Linked DNA regions of Homo sapiens: regions 1 and 2 are each linked to region 3. Evidence: promoter capture Hi-C in 16 types of primary human blood cells and fetal thymus (Javierre and others, 2016). All regions are on one chromosome and are shown on one strand. Each heading gives the region's core, a stretch centred on a gene start or on the middle of the fragment in contact. The rest is flanking DNA. Distances are from core to core; before and after follow the strand shown. Region 1 overlaps DCHS1 (dachsous cadherin-related 1). Region 2 overlaps DNHD1 (dynein heavy chain domain 1). Region 3 holds the start of RRP8 (ribosomal RNA processing 8).

The links. The method cuts DNA at HindIII sites, captures the fragments that hold promoters and counts their contacts. A CHiCAGO score of 5 or more calls a contact.
Region 1: a contact is called between a fragment that was not itself captured here and the fragment with the promoter of RRP8 in region 3, in 5 of 17 cell types (activated CD4 T cells, non-activated CD4 T cells, total CD8 T cells and 2 more). The highest score is 5.8, in activated CD4 T cells.
Region 2: a contact is called between a fragment that was not itself captured here and the fragment with the promoter of RRP8 in region 3, in 1 of 17 cell types (erythroblasts). The highest score is 6.0, in erythroblasts.

The regions. Positions count from the first base shown.
Region 1 is chr11:6,636,259-6,641,010 of GRCh38, forward strand. It overlaps DCHS1 (dachsous cadherin-related 1), which reads right to left. Exons shown (of 21, transcript NM_003737.4): 2 at 3,559-4,752. Among named protein-coding and RNA genes, the nearest start is that of DCHS1, 17 kb to the right of the region's middle. The HindIII fragment of the contact is 8,749 bases long and covers 1-4,752 here.
Region 2 is chr11:6,549,223-6,553,923 of GRCh38, forward strand. The region is part of intron 24 of DNHD1 (dynein heavy chain domain 1); the gene reads left to right. Among named protein-coding and RNA genes, the nearest start is that of RRP8, 52 kb to the right of the region's middle. The HindIII fragment of the contact is 1,501 bases long and covers 2,141-3,641 here.
Region 3 is chr11:6,602,183-6,606,079 of GRCh38, forward strand. It overlaps RRP8 (ribosomal RNA processing 8), which reads right to left and starts at 1,434. Exons shown (of 7, transcript NM_015324.4): 1 at 1,222-1,434; 2 at 1-33. The coding sequence starts at 1,320. ILK (integrin linked kinase) reads left to right here and starts at 1,592. Exons shown (of 13, transcript NM_004517.4): 1 at 1,592-1,640; 2 at 1,998-2,178. The coding sequence starts at 2,090. RefSeq lists enhancers at 667-1,208, 1,204-1,393, 1,984-2,223, 2,454-2,613 and a silencer at 1,464-1,673. The HindIII fragment of the contact is 3,835 bases long and covers 1-2,004 here.

The DNA of each region.
Region 1 (4,752 bases), core at 1,507-4,006, 35 kb after region 3:
GGGTGCAGTGGTGTGATCCTAGCTCACTGCAACTTCGAACTCCTGGGCTCAAGCAATCCTCCTGCCTTAGCCTCCGGAACAACTAGGACTACAGGCGTGCACCACCATGCCTGGCTAGTTTTTTTATTTTTTGCATAGACAGTGTTTCACTATGTTGCCCAGGCTGGTCTCAAACTCCTGGCCTCAACCAGTCCTTCCACCTTGGCCTCCCAAAGTGCCGAGATTACAGGCGTGAACCACTGTGCCTGGCCTTTATTTATTTTTTAAGACAGGCTCTCACTATGTTGTCCAGGCTGGTTTGGAACTCTTGGGCTCAAGTAATCCTCCTGCCTCAGCCTCCCGAGTAGCTTGGATTACAGGGATGCATCACCATGCCCATCTCTCCTGCTATGACTTCTTGATGCTACTTTTCCTGCTTCTCCACCCACTGCTTCCCCCACCACCCACTGCCAGTCTTCCTCCATCTCCCCTTATCTGCCTGTTCTTACACACTGTTCCCTGGAATCTCTCCTTGGCCTCTTCTCACTCCACACATTCTCTCAGGGCCTTGCCTTTTACTTCAGCCATCGTCTATACTTTCACTCTAGACCACTCCTCTGAGATTTCCCAACTTTTACATCCAGATGGCTGCTCAGCACCTCCACCTGGATGTCCCACAGGCACCCTAAATCCGACCAGCCCAAAACTAAACTCATGATCATTCCAAACCTGCTCTAATGACTCTTCCATCCACACAGTTGCTAAAGCCAGAAATCAGTTCTTCCCTTTTCTCACCTGGTATATCAATCAACCAGGGATTAAGTAAGTCCTCATTAACTCTATTTGTCTGTTCCTTTCCATCACCATTATCACCATTCTGACTTAGGCCTGAGCTGTCCTGAGTTATTGCTCCCCTGCATTATTTTGATTACCTTCTCATAGAGGTCTGACCCTCTGATCTGTACTCTCCACCAGGGTTTCTCAAATTGGCACTACTGACATTTTGGACCAGATAATGCTTTATTATGGGAGCTGCTAAGTGCCTTGCAGGATGGTTAGCAGCATTCTCAGCCTCTACCCACTAGATGCCAATAGTCTCCCACCCATTGTGACAATCAGAAATTTCTCTAGATATTGCTAATATCCCTTCTGGGGGGCAAAGTCACCCCTGGTTATGAACCACTGCTCTACATTGACTACCATTTGCATAAACAAATCTGATAATATTGCTATAGAAAAAAGCTCAAACCCTCTGACTTGGCTGAGCCTCCCTGCAGTCTCATCTCCCACCTTCCCATCTCCAGTCTTAACTCCAGAGATCCTGAGCCCCTAGTAGGCCCTTGAACAAACTGGGCCCTCCCACACCTCTGTGCACCTCACCTCTGCTTGGAAGCCTTCCCCCATCTGATACTCTCATAAATTGCTCATTCTTTAAGTCTCAACTCAGGGATCCCTTCCTTCAGGAAAGCACTCATACTGCCTATCTGTACCTCATATATATCCCCAAATGGAAATGTTCTTATTGGAATGAAACTATTTCTTTGCACATGAATCTCCCCTCTATAAACTCCTTAAGATGAGGGGAGTGACGCATTCATGACTGTATTCCGTGTCTCTAATACAGTGACTAGCACATGGTAGACATTCAATACATGTATATTGAATAAATCAAACATTAAGACTTCTTGTGACAGTTGTAAACCCCAAATGGTCATTTTTACCCCGATTCTCTATGGTTACTAATAGTAAAAACTCCAGGAAACCACCTGGAGAGTTGCCCTCTTGCTTCAGGCACTAGTGAGGAGAGAAGTCTGGAAGCCATAGCCCATTGGTCCTGGACAAGAAGGAGAGTAAACACGTGGAAGAGTGGGTGGTGGAGCTGCACAGCAGCAGGCGAGCAAATATGCAGAGTCTGGCCAGAGGACAAGAGGTCAGCCAGGCCCAGAGCTAGCCTGGAAGTCTATGCCCTGAGGAGATGTTCAAGAGTCTGGTGGAGTTTGGAGACATAAGGACACTAAGCACCAGCCTCCTAAGAGGACTCCCTGCCCACTGTCCTCTCTCCTGCTGCCATTCTCCACAGTGCAGCCAAAGCAATCTTTCTTAAAGACATATCAGATTTGCTTAGAGTCCTTCACTTGCTCCCTATGATTTTCAAGATAAAGTTGAATTTGTGACCTGGCTCCTGTCTACTGTCTTTTCTCATCTCCCCCGACTCTTTCTCATTAGTACAGCTGATGCCAGCCTGAACAATACAGTCTCCTGAACACGTCCTGGTATTTGTTCAGCAGCTCTTTCCTTAGGCCTGGAGTCTCCATCTGCACACCTCATATTATCCATTTGGCAAAGTTTCATTAGTTCTTCAAGGCCCCTCCTCTGGGCTTCCACAGCACTCATACGCCACCTGCTGCAGCACTAGTTGCTGATGTGTCTCCCTATCTAGACTGTGACCACCCTGGGAACAGGATTGTCTCTTTTCTTTGTTCTCTGGGCCTAGCACAGTGCTAGGCTTACAGTAGTTAAATAAAATCTTGAACATATGAATCAAGGAACGATCTGTCACACACCTGCTGATCCAATCACCCTTAAAGCCAGATAGCTAACTTAATAAAACCCAACCTGATCATTCACTTCCCAGCTCAAAGAAATTCAGTGATCTCCTCGAGGGCAGATCAAGACCATCCTGGCTAACACAGTGAAACCCCGTCTCTATTAAAAATACAAAAAATTAGCTGGGTGTGGTGGAGGTGCCTGTAGTCCCAGCTACTTGGGAGGCTGAGGCAGGAGAATGGCGTGAACCCAGGAGGCAGACTTGCAGTGAGCCCAGATCATGCCACCGCACTCCAGCCTGGGCAACAGAGCGAGACTCCGCCTCAAAAAAAAAAAAAAGAAGTTCAGTGAGCTCCTTTGCTTCCCAAGTAGTCCTAACTACTGCTTTGTGTTCAAGGACTTCTGCAACCTGGCCTCAGAGTGCCTTTCCAGTTTCATGTTCCCTCCATTTCTCCAGGACTGACTTGCAGCCAGTATGTGTCTTTCTCAGCCTGTCCAGGGTTCCTGCCTCTTCCCCTGAGAGGCCTTCCTGCTCTGGATATTGAGATAATTCTTGCTATCTCTCATTCTCATGTCTGAGACCAAATGGCCTATTAAGGCTCAGCTCTGAGGGCAGGGATGAGGATTTCTTCCAGCACAACCCAGCACTTGACAAGCAATGGAGGGCCCCATAAATTCTGGTGTCTTCTTTGGGGAACAGAAGCCACATACGTATGTAGAATCTCCATCTCTGCCCTGCAGAACAGCTTTGAGGCTTTCATTTCCTGACACCACAAATCATTTCTCCACTAGATCCAATCTTAATTTCCTCACCTGCCAAGACCATCTGCCTCAGCTCTTGCACCCTGCTTTCTCATCTTCTCATTAACCCTCATCCTCTGCACAGATTTTGGAGCTTACAACATAGGGCAGAACCCTCTAGCATAAGTCACCATCAACAGATGACCTTGTAAGGCTTGGTTCCTGCTCTGAGGTCCCCTGTGGCTCTCAGATTCCCCCAACACTATCTTGCTATGTGCCAGGCCTACCCACCTGCAGGAAGCAAGTTCCAGGCTGGGTGCCCTCAGGCAGTGAGGCATTGTAGAAAGTCCTCTGGAATTGGGGCTCATTATCATTCACATCTTGCAGGGCCACGCTAACTGTGGCAGAGGAGGCTAGAGGGGGCAGGCCACCATCTGTGGCCACCACAATCAGCTGTGGCTGAGGTTCCAACTCATAGTCCAGTGAGGCAGCCGTAGTGATAATGCCTGAGGTGGGGTCAATGGAGAACCAGTGGGTGTGGGCGCCAGGGGCTAGGCTATAAGTGACCTGACCATTGGTGCCTTGGTCAGGATCCCGAGCAGTCACCCGCACTACAAAGCTGCCAGGCAGCGCAACCTCAGGCAGGGGCTCAGGTCGGTAGAGCTGGCGGTCAAAGGCAGGTGCATTGTCGTTGACATCAGTGACGTGCAGCACAAAGGCAGCCTCAGCCCGCAGTGGAGGTGAGCCTGAGTCTGTGGCTGTAACCCTCAAGTTATAGGCATCCCTCTCCTCTCGATCCAGCCGCCGAGCCACACACACCAGATAGATGACGCTGTCTTGGGTGCTTAGGGCAAAGTGGCCCTCTCCACCTTCCAGGGACACATTGACATGGGCAAAGTCACCATCATCTGGGTCTGACACAGAGATGCGAGCAACGAGCTGTCCAGGTGGGGCGGCCTCAGACACTTGGGGGGAGCCATCTGCACTGAGAAAGATGACAGTCATGGAGGGCTGATTGTCATTGGCATCTCGCACATGCACAGTCACAAAGGCCGAGCCCAGCTCAGGGTGAGCCCCACCATCTCGTGCTTGCACCACCAGTTCATGGACCCGCCGCTGCTCAAAGTCCAGTGGCCGCTCTAACTGCAGCAGCCCCGTGTGTGCGTCGATGGAGAAGGGTCCATCACCCTCGCTCTGCCTCCGGTTGATCTCGTAAGTCACAGCCCCATTGACACCAGCATCGGCATCAGATGCGAACACCTGCAAGACAGGACTGCCAGGGGCCAGGCTCTCAGACACCACAGCATGGTAGCGGCTCTGATTGAAAGCCGGGGCATGGTCATTGATGTCCAGCAGTGTCACGTCCAGCAGGGCCTGGGCCCTCCGGGGGGGTGAACCACCATCATAGGCCTCCAGCTGTAGCATATAGTGTGAGCGGTTCTCTCGGTCCAGTTCCCCAGTAACTACCAGCTCAGGTACTGGAGT
Region 2 (4,701 bases), core at 1,641-4,140, 52 kb before region 3:
CAGACCCAACCCTGAGCTCATCATCTCCCCGCGGCCAAAATCTGCTCCTGTCTGTCCTCTTAGTTTCACCATCCAGCCAGTCATGTAAGCCAGAAATCTTGTTGACATCTCATTCTCCTTCACCAATATCCAGTCACCATGTCTTTTCAATCCTACCTCCTTCATATTTCTTGAATCTTTCCACTTATTTCCATGGTTCAGATGATCTTTACTTGGAAATCTGACAAATGCTCTTACAAAGCTTTCTGTGATGAGGCTTTCTTCTGTGTCCTCTTACACTCTCTCTAATTGGACTTAACAAGTCAGGCTTCCTCTAGACCCTGGGATTGCTGTCCTCTCTGCCTTCTCTATGTGGCTAAATTCTACTTATTATTTCTAAATTACCTAAGGCAGTAGCTTCTCCAGGAAGCCTGATCCATAGGCTCGGTTAGATATCCATCCTGTGCTCTGTACAATAATCTGTGATAACCATGATTTTATTATTGTATGCTTGCCTATCTGTCCCTTTCACCACACTTGGAGATTTATGAGAACAGAGAACAGAAATTTGTCTCATTCATTTTGGTAGACCCAACAGGAAGTAAGTGCTCAATAAAAGTTTGTAGAAGACAAGATAACAAAGGAAAGGAGAAAAATCTTGATAAAAATTTGGGATATTGAAGTGTAAAGTTTCTAAAGTGGTATGCCTCTAGATGATGAGAGTTTCTAAATATGGCCATGGGATTGGGAAGTGAATTTTAGGTAGAGGTTGTTGGAGTCAAGGAAGTCAATGGGCTGAAGCACTGGATAGGCTATCCAGTTAAACAGCGAAGTCTCTTATGAGATGTAGAAAACTTGAACCAGATGTATTCGTACTTAATAATAGCCAGTACAATTTATTGAATATCTACTATGTGCTCTATGATATGTCTATGTCATCTTCAGTGCTCATAAAAGCCAAGTAAGATGGGGAATTTTTGCAATTATTTTAAAGATGAAGAAACAGAGACAGAGATTTTAGAACTTGCCCAAGATACCCTAGCTATGAAGTGTCAGAACCAAGATTAAAATTCAAGTCTATTTGGTTCCAAAACCTGTAGTTCCTTCCAGCTATATTATTTGGTCTTTGCAATGAATTTGCACAAAATTAGAGACAATAGAAGGAGTAAAGAGTGGTACAGTCAGATATATGAAGAGATTTCAGCTGAGAAGAGACTTCAGCAACATTGTAGAGTGAAGAATATTACTGCTGGCAGAATGTAAAAGGTGTCCTTGAGTGACAACCACCAGAACATCCAGTATAAAATAAAAAATAAATAGACATGCCAACAAAAACCCCCAGAAAATAATGTGACCTGCTGTCAAGAAGAAGCAAGCAATAGAATAGAAACTGACCCTGAGATCTATATAGCTGTACGCTGTCCAAAAGATGCACTTTAAATATAAAAACACAGATAGATTAAAAGAAGTTTTTAATGCAAAATATTTACTACAGAAATAGTTTGCATAAGGAAGTTGATGTGGCAATATTAATACCAAAGCACTTTAAGACAAAGGATATTACCAGAGATAGAAAAGGACATCTCATAATTGAAAGATTCAACTCATCAGAAAGACAAAAGTCTTAAATGTGTCCACACCTAAAATAGACATTTAAGTATAGGGAAAAAAAGCCAATAGAAACAAAAGAGACATAGTAAATCTGAAATCATATTAAGAAATTAATATGCCTCTCACAATAACTGATAAGACAAGGAGCAAGAAAGTAGGGACATTAAAGATCTGAATAACACTAGCAACACACTGACATTTACAAAACATTATACTCACCAACTGCAAAATGCACCTTCTTTTCAAATGCACATGAAACATTCACCAAGATAGACCATATGCTGGGTTACAAAATAAGTCTCAACAAATTTCAAAGGATTAACATTTTAAATAATATTTTATCTGACCATAACAATACAAATATTGATAAGATGCCTAGAGAATTTCCAAATTCTTTAAAATTAACACACTTCTAAATAATGTACCAAAAAAGAAATTACAAGAGAAATTAGAGAATGTTTTGAACTAAATAATAATGAAAACAAAACATATCAAAATTTGTGAGATGCAACTAAAGGTTATAGCTTTAAATATCTATCTTAGAGAGAAAAGCTTGGAATCAATGACCTAAATTTTCAGCTTAAGACTCTAGAAAAAGAAGAGCAAGTTATACCCAAAGCAATTAAAAGGAAATCAATAATAAAGAACAGAGCAGAAATCAGTGAAATAGAAAAACATACAAACAATGGAGAATATCAACAAAGCCATATTTTGTTTCTTTGAAAAAGATAAAATTGACAATCGCCTATTAACACAAATCAAGAAATGAAAAGGAAAACATAAATTTTGAATATCAGGAATGAAAGAGGTTTTATTAAAGATATTTAAAAGGATAAAAAGGGAGCCAGGGCCGGGCACTGTGGCTCACGCCTGTAATCCCGGCACTTTGGGAGGCCAAGGAGGGCAGATCACGAGGTCAGGAGATGGAGACCATCCTGGCCAACATGGTGAAACCCCGTCTCTACTAAAAATGCAAAAATTAGCTGGGCATGGTGGCATGTACCTGTAATCACAGCTACTCGGGAGGCTGAGGCAGGAGAATTGCTTGAACCAGGGAGGTGGAAGTTGCGGTGAGCTGAGATTTGCACCACTGCACTCCAGCCTGGTGACAGAGCGAGACTCCGTCTCCAAAAAAAAAAAGGGGAGCCAGGCATGGTGGCATGCACCTGTAATCCCAGCTACTAGGGAGGGAGGCTTAGGCAGGAGGATTTCTTAAGGCCAGGAGTTCAAGACCAGCCTGGGCAGCATAGTGGGACCCTCATTTAAAAAAAAAAGTTTTAAAAAATGGATAATAAGGGAAAATTATGAAAAACTTTATGCTAATAAATTTAGCAACTTAGGTGAAATGGATACATGCTGTATTAGTCTGTTTTCACACTGCAATAAAGAACTACTTGAGACTGGGTAATTCATAAAGAAAAGAGGGTTAGGCCAGGCATGGTGGCTCACGCCTGTAATCCCAGCACTTTGGGAGGCTGAGGCAGGTTGATCCCTTGAGGTCAGGAGTTTGAGACCAGCCTGGCCAACATGGTGAAACCCCATCTCTACTAAAAATACAAAAATTAGCTGGGTGTGGTGGGGGTCACCTGTAATCCCAACTACTTGGGAGGCTGAGGCAGGAGAATCGCTTGAACCTGGGAGGCAGAGGTTGCAACGAGCCAGGATCACGCCATTGCACTCCAGCCTGGGTGACAAGAGCAAAACTTCGTCCCAAAAAATATATATATATAAGTAGGTTTAATTGACTCACAGTTCCGCATGGATGGGGAGCCCTCAGGAAACTTAAAGTCGTGGCAAAAGGCGAAGGGGAGGCAAGGCACATCTTACATAGCAGTTGGCGGGGGCGGGGTGGGGTGAAGAGATGTACCATCAGAACTTATGAGAAATTGCTCACTATCATGAGAACAGCATGGGGGAAGCCGGCCCCGTGATCCACTCACCTCCCACCAGGTCCCTCCCTCAACATATGGGGATTACAATTCAAGACAAAATTTGGTTGGGGACACAGAGCCAAACCATATCACATGCCTTACAAAAACATAACTTGTCAAAGCTTGAACAAAAGAAGAAAAATAATAGAAAATGAACAGCCTCATACCTAAGAAAAGTTTGAATGCATAATAAATGTTTCCAGTCCCAGATGGTTATACAGTTGAATTATATCAAATATTTAGAAAAAAAGTACAACTTATATATACTTTTTCAGAAAATGGAGAATACTAAGCCATGATGAAGACATTTCAAGCAAAGAAATAAACTGTTATCTTTCATAAACCTAAATGCAAAAATAAATCCTCACTGAAATATTATTAAATAAAATTCAGCAACATACAAAAAGAATAATATCTTAAGACCAAACGGAGTCTATCCTGGGAAGGCAAAGCTGACTAAACATTGAAAAATCAATCAGTGTAGCTCACATTAACAGAATAAAGGAGCAAATGAGTAAGTAATATTAGTAGATAAAAATCACTTGACAAAATTCCAACACTATTCCATAACTCCCAGGAAACTAGGAATAGAAGATAACTTTCTCAATTTGATGAAAAGCATCTATTATACTTACAGCTAAATACATACTTAATGGTTAAATATTGAATACTGTCCCCCTAAAATCAGTTAAAAGGCAAGAACATACTCACTGCTTCTATTCAACACTGTACTGGAGACCACATCGACGCAATTAAGAAAAAGAAATAAAAGCTTTTAAAATTAGAAAAGACAAGTTAAAACTGTCTGTATTGGCATGTAATATGATTGTCTACATAGAGACCCCAAAGGAATATTTTTTTAAACCCCATAAAAAACTACTACAATAAATAAGTTAATTCATCAGGGTCACAGGATACAGAATCAATCCATTGAAATCATTTGTACTTCTATATCCTAGTAACAAAACATTGGAAATTGAAATTTTAAAATATCACTTAAAAGTCATTTAAAAGCATAAAATACTTAGGAATAAATTTAATTAAAAGCATTCAAGATCTGTACACTGAAAATGACTAAATATTGCTGAGATAGAGGAAATGTAAATAAATGGAGAAATATATGATGTTCATGGATCAGAAGAGTCAGTATCATTAAGGTCTTCATTCTCCCCCAAATGAT
Region 3 (3,897 bases), core at 184-2,683:
TAATGTGGCCAAGAGCTGGCGGCGCTTGGAGCCCTGGAGGAAAACAGGGGATGACAGTGGGCCTAAAGAGAATGGATGAGGCCTGGAGAACAAGAAGGGAGAGATGTGGACCTGATTCAGACTGGCAGAAGCATCTGAATTCTTCCCAGTCAAGCCTGCCAGAACCCAGAAGAACTTTTATGTCACCACCCCAACTTCTGGGAAGCTGGAGAGCAGAGAAACCACCTATCCCACTTTCTTCAATGTGTAAATGAGCTAATGGAGGTTTCCCCAAAGGAAAATGCAAAGGCCACAAGCAACAAGACCAAGGCCAGAGACCAGGAATTCCAACCCTTCACCTTGAGCTTTTGCCTAGAGCTGATACATTTCTGTAAGAGGTAAGGAGGCTTCTGAACACAGGAGACACATGATCACACACGTATATTAAATATTTAACATGTCTCTAGCTGCAGTGTAGAAAACAAACTGAAGGGGAGAAATTGCAGACAGAGAGGCCAGCGGCTTGGACAATGGTAATGGGGCTAGGGGATGAAAAAGGAGGAAACAAAGCAGGCCGATTCCATGTTGGAGGCAGACTGAAGGGTAAGAAAAGCCTGAGGAAGCAGGGCCCTCACATCTGCAGAGGCTCAAAGGAGAAGATGTATTGTCGGGAAGGCTGATTCTGTGTTGCAGTCCTACCAGGTAATCCTAGGCCAGGCACTTACCCTGATTCTAAGTTTCCCACACCCTCCTTTGAACAATGATACTGACAACTCTTACTGTCTCCAATCCATCCTCCACACTGTAACCGACGACCCTTTCAAAATACAAATCTGAAGAAATAATTCCATTGCTTAAAACCTTTCATTGGCTTCTATTCTCAATATACGCAAAACTTCTACCTCTTGAACTTGAACAGCATATATGCCCCTTTCATTTACTATGTATTTCAACCACAAGGACCACTTGTGTTTGTGACTCTGACAGAACATGCTCTCTTGTCCCAGGGCCCTTGTACGTACTTTTTCCTGTCTGAAGAACCCTCTTCGCTTCACCAACTTCTACTCAACAACTCTCTCTGACCCAACGTCAGTTTCTTTTGGAAGTTCTCGGATCTTCAGATCAGGACTCGCCCTTAACGGTGCCACAGGTGTCCCTCCCCGCAATACACACAGCGCTGGGATCCACCAATGTCCGCTTCGCGGCCTGAAACAGCTCCCATTGCTCCCGCGAGTCACTCACCTTGTTTTGCGAGGAGGCCGCAGGCGGAGGTCGTGAGATTACGGGCCCAAGGCCCGCGGCTACTGGGGCCGCCTCGGCCCACTCAGGCTCTTCGAACATGAGGGTCGGGAGGGCAGGGTCGCCGAGTCCCCGCTCTTCTCCACGTGCACAGCGCTCCTCTGGAAGTCGGAGCGCTCAGACCTGCCAGAACCGACCCGGAAACCAAAGCGTGACAGCCAGGGGTTGCTAGAGCGGCCGGCGCGGCGCAGCGAACCATCGAGTTTAGCCAGGCGCGGCTAGAAGGGCAGGGAGGCGGTGGGAGGGGAGGGACGGAGGCCCGCGCTGCCCAAGAGCGCCACGGGCGGGGCGGGGCCGGCGGCGGGCTGCGGGCGCGGCCGGACGGGAGTTCCCCGGAGAAGGATCCTGCAGCCCGAGTCCCGGTGAGTGCGAGAGGACCCGCGCCCCCTGTCACCCCTCACTTCTCCTGAGTCCCAAGTAAGGAACGGAGCCAACCCTGGGGAGGACCCCCGGTCCCCTCTCCCAGAGTATACGGAGCCTGAACCTCCCCACTTCCCCCAACTCTGTTCGCGGATAGGGTCTAGTTGCCTGCTCTCGGACATCCGTTCAGCAGACACTACCTCTTCGTCACCCCCTGCCCACCCTGACCCGCCTTTACCTCGCGTCTAGAGGACACAGCCAGGGATCATCCCGCAGCCCCGAACTCCTTCACAGACCCCCACTAGCCGGGGACGCAGCTCAGGCCCCCTACCCCCAACACAAACACTTCTCTCCTGTAGAGGATAAAGCTTGGGGTTCATCCTCCTTCCCTGGATCACTCCACAGTCCTCAGGCTTCCCCAATCCAGGGGACTCGGCGCCGGGACGCTGCTATGGACGACATTTTCACTCAGTGCCGGGAGGGCAACGCAGTCGCCGTTCGCCTGTGGCTGGACAACACGGAGAACGACCTCAACCAGGGGTGAGCTGAAACGGTTGGTGGATGAGAGGAAGGCTAGAGATCTCCTGGCTACGTGGAGTGGAGTGCTCATGTCTGGTGGTGGCGGCTGCCTTTGCTAGCCAGTGTAATGAGTGCTAAGCATAGCCTGTGGGGGGCAGAGGGTTTTCACAGAGGACGCAGTTTGAGCTGAATCTTGACTGCAGAATAAGAGTTTCACAGGCAGAGGCTACAGAGAGCTTTCCAGCCTCAGTAGACTGCATGGCCAAAGGCTAGGGGGCAAGGCACAGAGCAGAGAGAACAGGAAATTGTCTGGAGTTCCATATGGCTGGAGGATAGATGATCTCTGTGGGTCGGAGCATTGGGTACAAGAGGAAAAGAACAGGACATAAGACTGTAGAGGTCTCCAAGGATCAGCCAGATCATGCAAGCATATTTAGGCTATAAGAAGGTCTTTATTTTAAAAGCAAGGTTTTAAAGCTGTATAGTGACATAATGAGATTGTCCATTTTTCAGTATCGTCTTGGATGCTTTGTGAAGAGCAGGTGGAAAGGAGGCAATTGCCTAGTTCATCGTAGAAGTAATGATGTCTTGGACTAGAATTAGGGTGAGTGAAAAAGAGAAGTGATCAAATTCCAGAAGTCTTTAGGACGAAGAATTGTGGAACTTGGTGTGGGGAGTGAGTAAGGGCAAAGATGAGGACCAGGGTTCTGGCTTGGGAACTTGGTTGTTTTTACTGAGATGGAGAAAACTGGAGGATGAGGCATTTTATTTTGGACATGTTAAAGTTAAGGTGACAATACAGCAAGGTGGAAATGTTGAGTGTGTTGTTGGTTATGCAGATTTGCAATTCAGGGGAGGAATCTGACTTGGAGACACAGATTTGAGAGCTATCAGCATATAGATAGCATATATATATCATATATATAGATGATACTTGAAGACGTGGTTGTGAAGGAGAACGTCTCAGGAGAGTGGAAGGCAAGAGGTCAGGGGACAGGAAGCCTGCACGACAGAAAAGGAGCAACCGCAAGTTGAAAAAGAAATAGGAAAATGTGTGAGTAAAGCTTACAGAAGAGAATGTTTTAATGAAGGGGAGGTAGTCAACGGCAGTACAGGCTACTGAGAGATCAAAGAACATTAATATTTTAAAGTAGCCATTGAATTTACAGTTGGGTTTTTTTTTTTTAAGTTAAGGGGTACATGTGCAGGTTTGTTGGATGGGTAAACTCAGGTCATGGAGGTTTGTTGTGCAGATCATTTCATCACCCAGGTATTAAGCCGTGGCACCCATTAGTTATTTTTCCTGATCCCTCCCTCTTCCTACCCGCCCCACTCTGGTAGGCCCCAGTGTCTGTTGCTCCCCTCAGTGTGCAGTTAGGATGTATTTGACCATCTGTGAGTGTTGTTTCAGAATAATGGGTGAAGAAATCAGACTACATTGGGTTCCTTAATTTAAGGCACTATGATGAACACCTTCTGTGCTGGGTGCTAGAGTCCAGAATCTGACATAATCTCTGCTCTCGATACAGCAGATTTGTGGCAGATTGAAAAGTAGGCCGGGCGCGGTGGCTCACGCCTGTAATCCCAGCACTTTGGGAGGCCGAGGCTGGTGGATCACGAGGTCAGGAGTTCGAGACCAGCCTGACCAACATGGTGAAACCCTGTCTCTACTAAAAATACAAAAATTAGCCAGGCGTGGTGGCGTGCGCCTGTAATCCCAGCTACTCGGAGGCTGAGGCA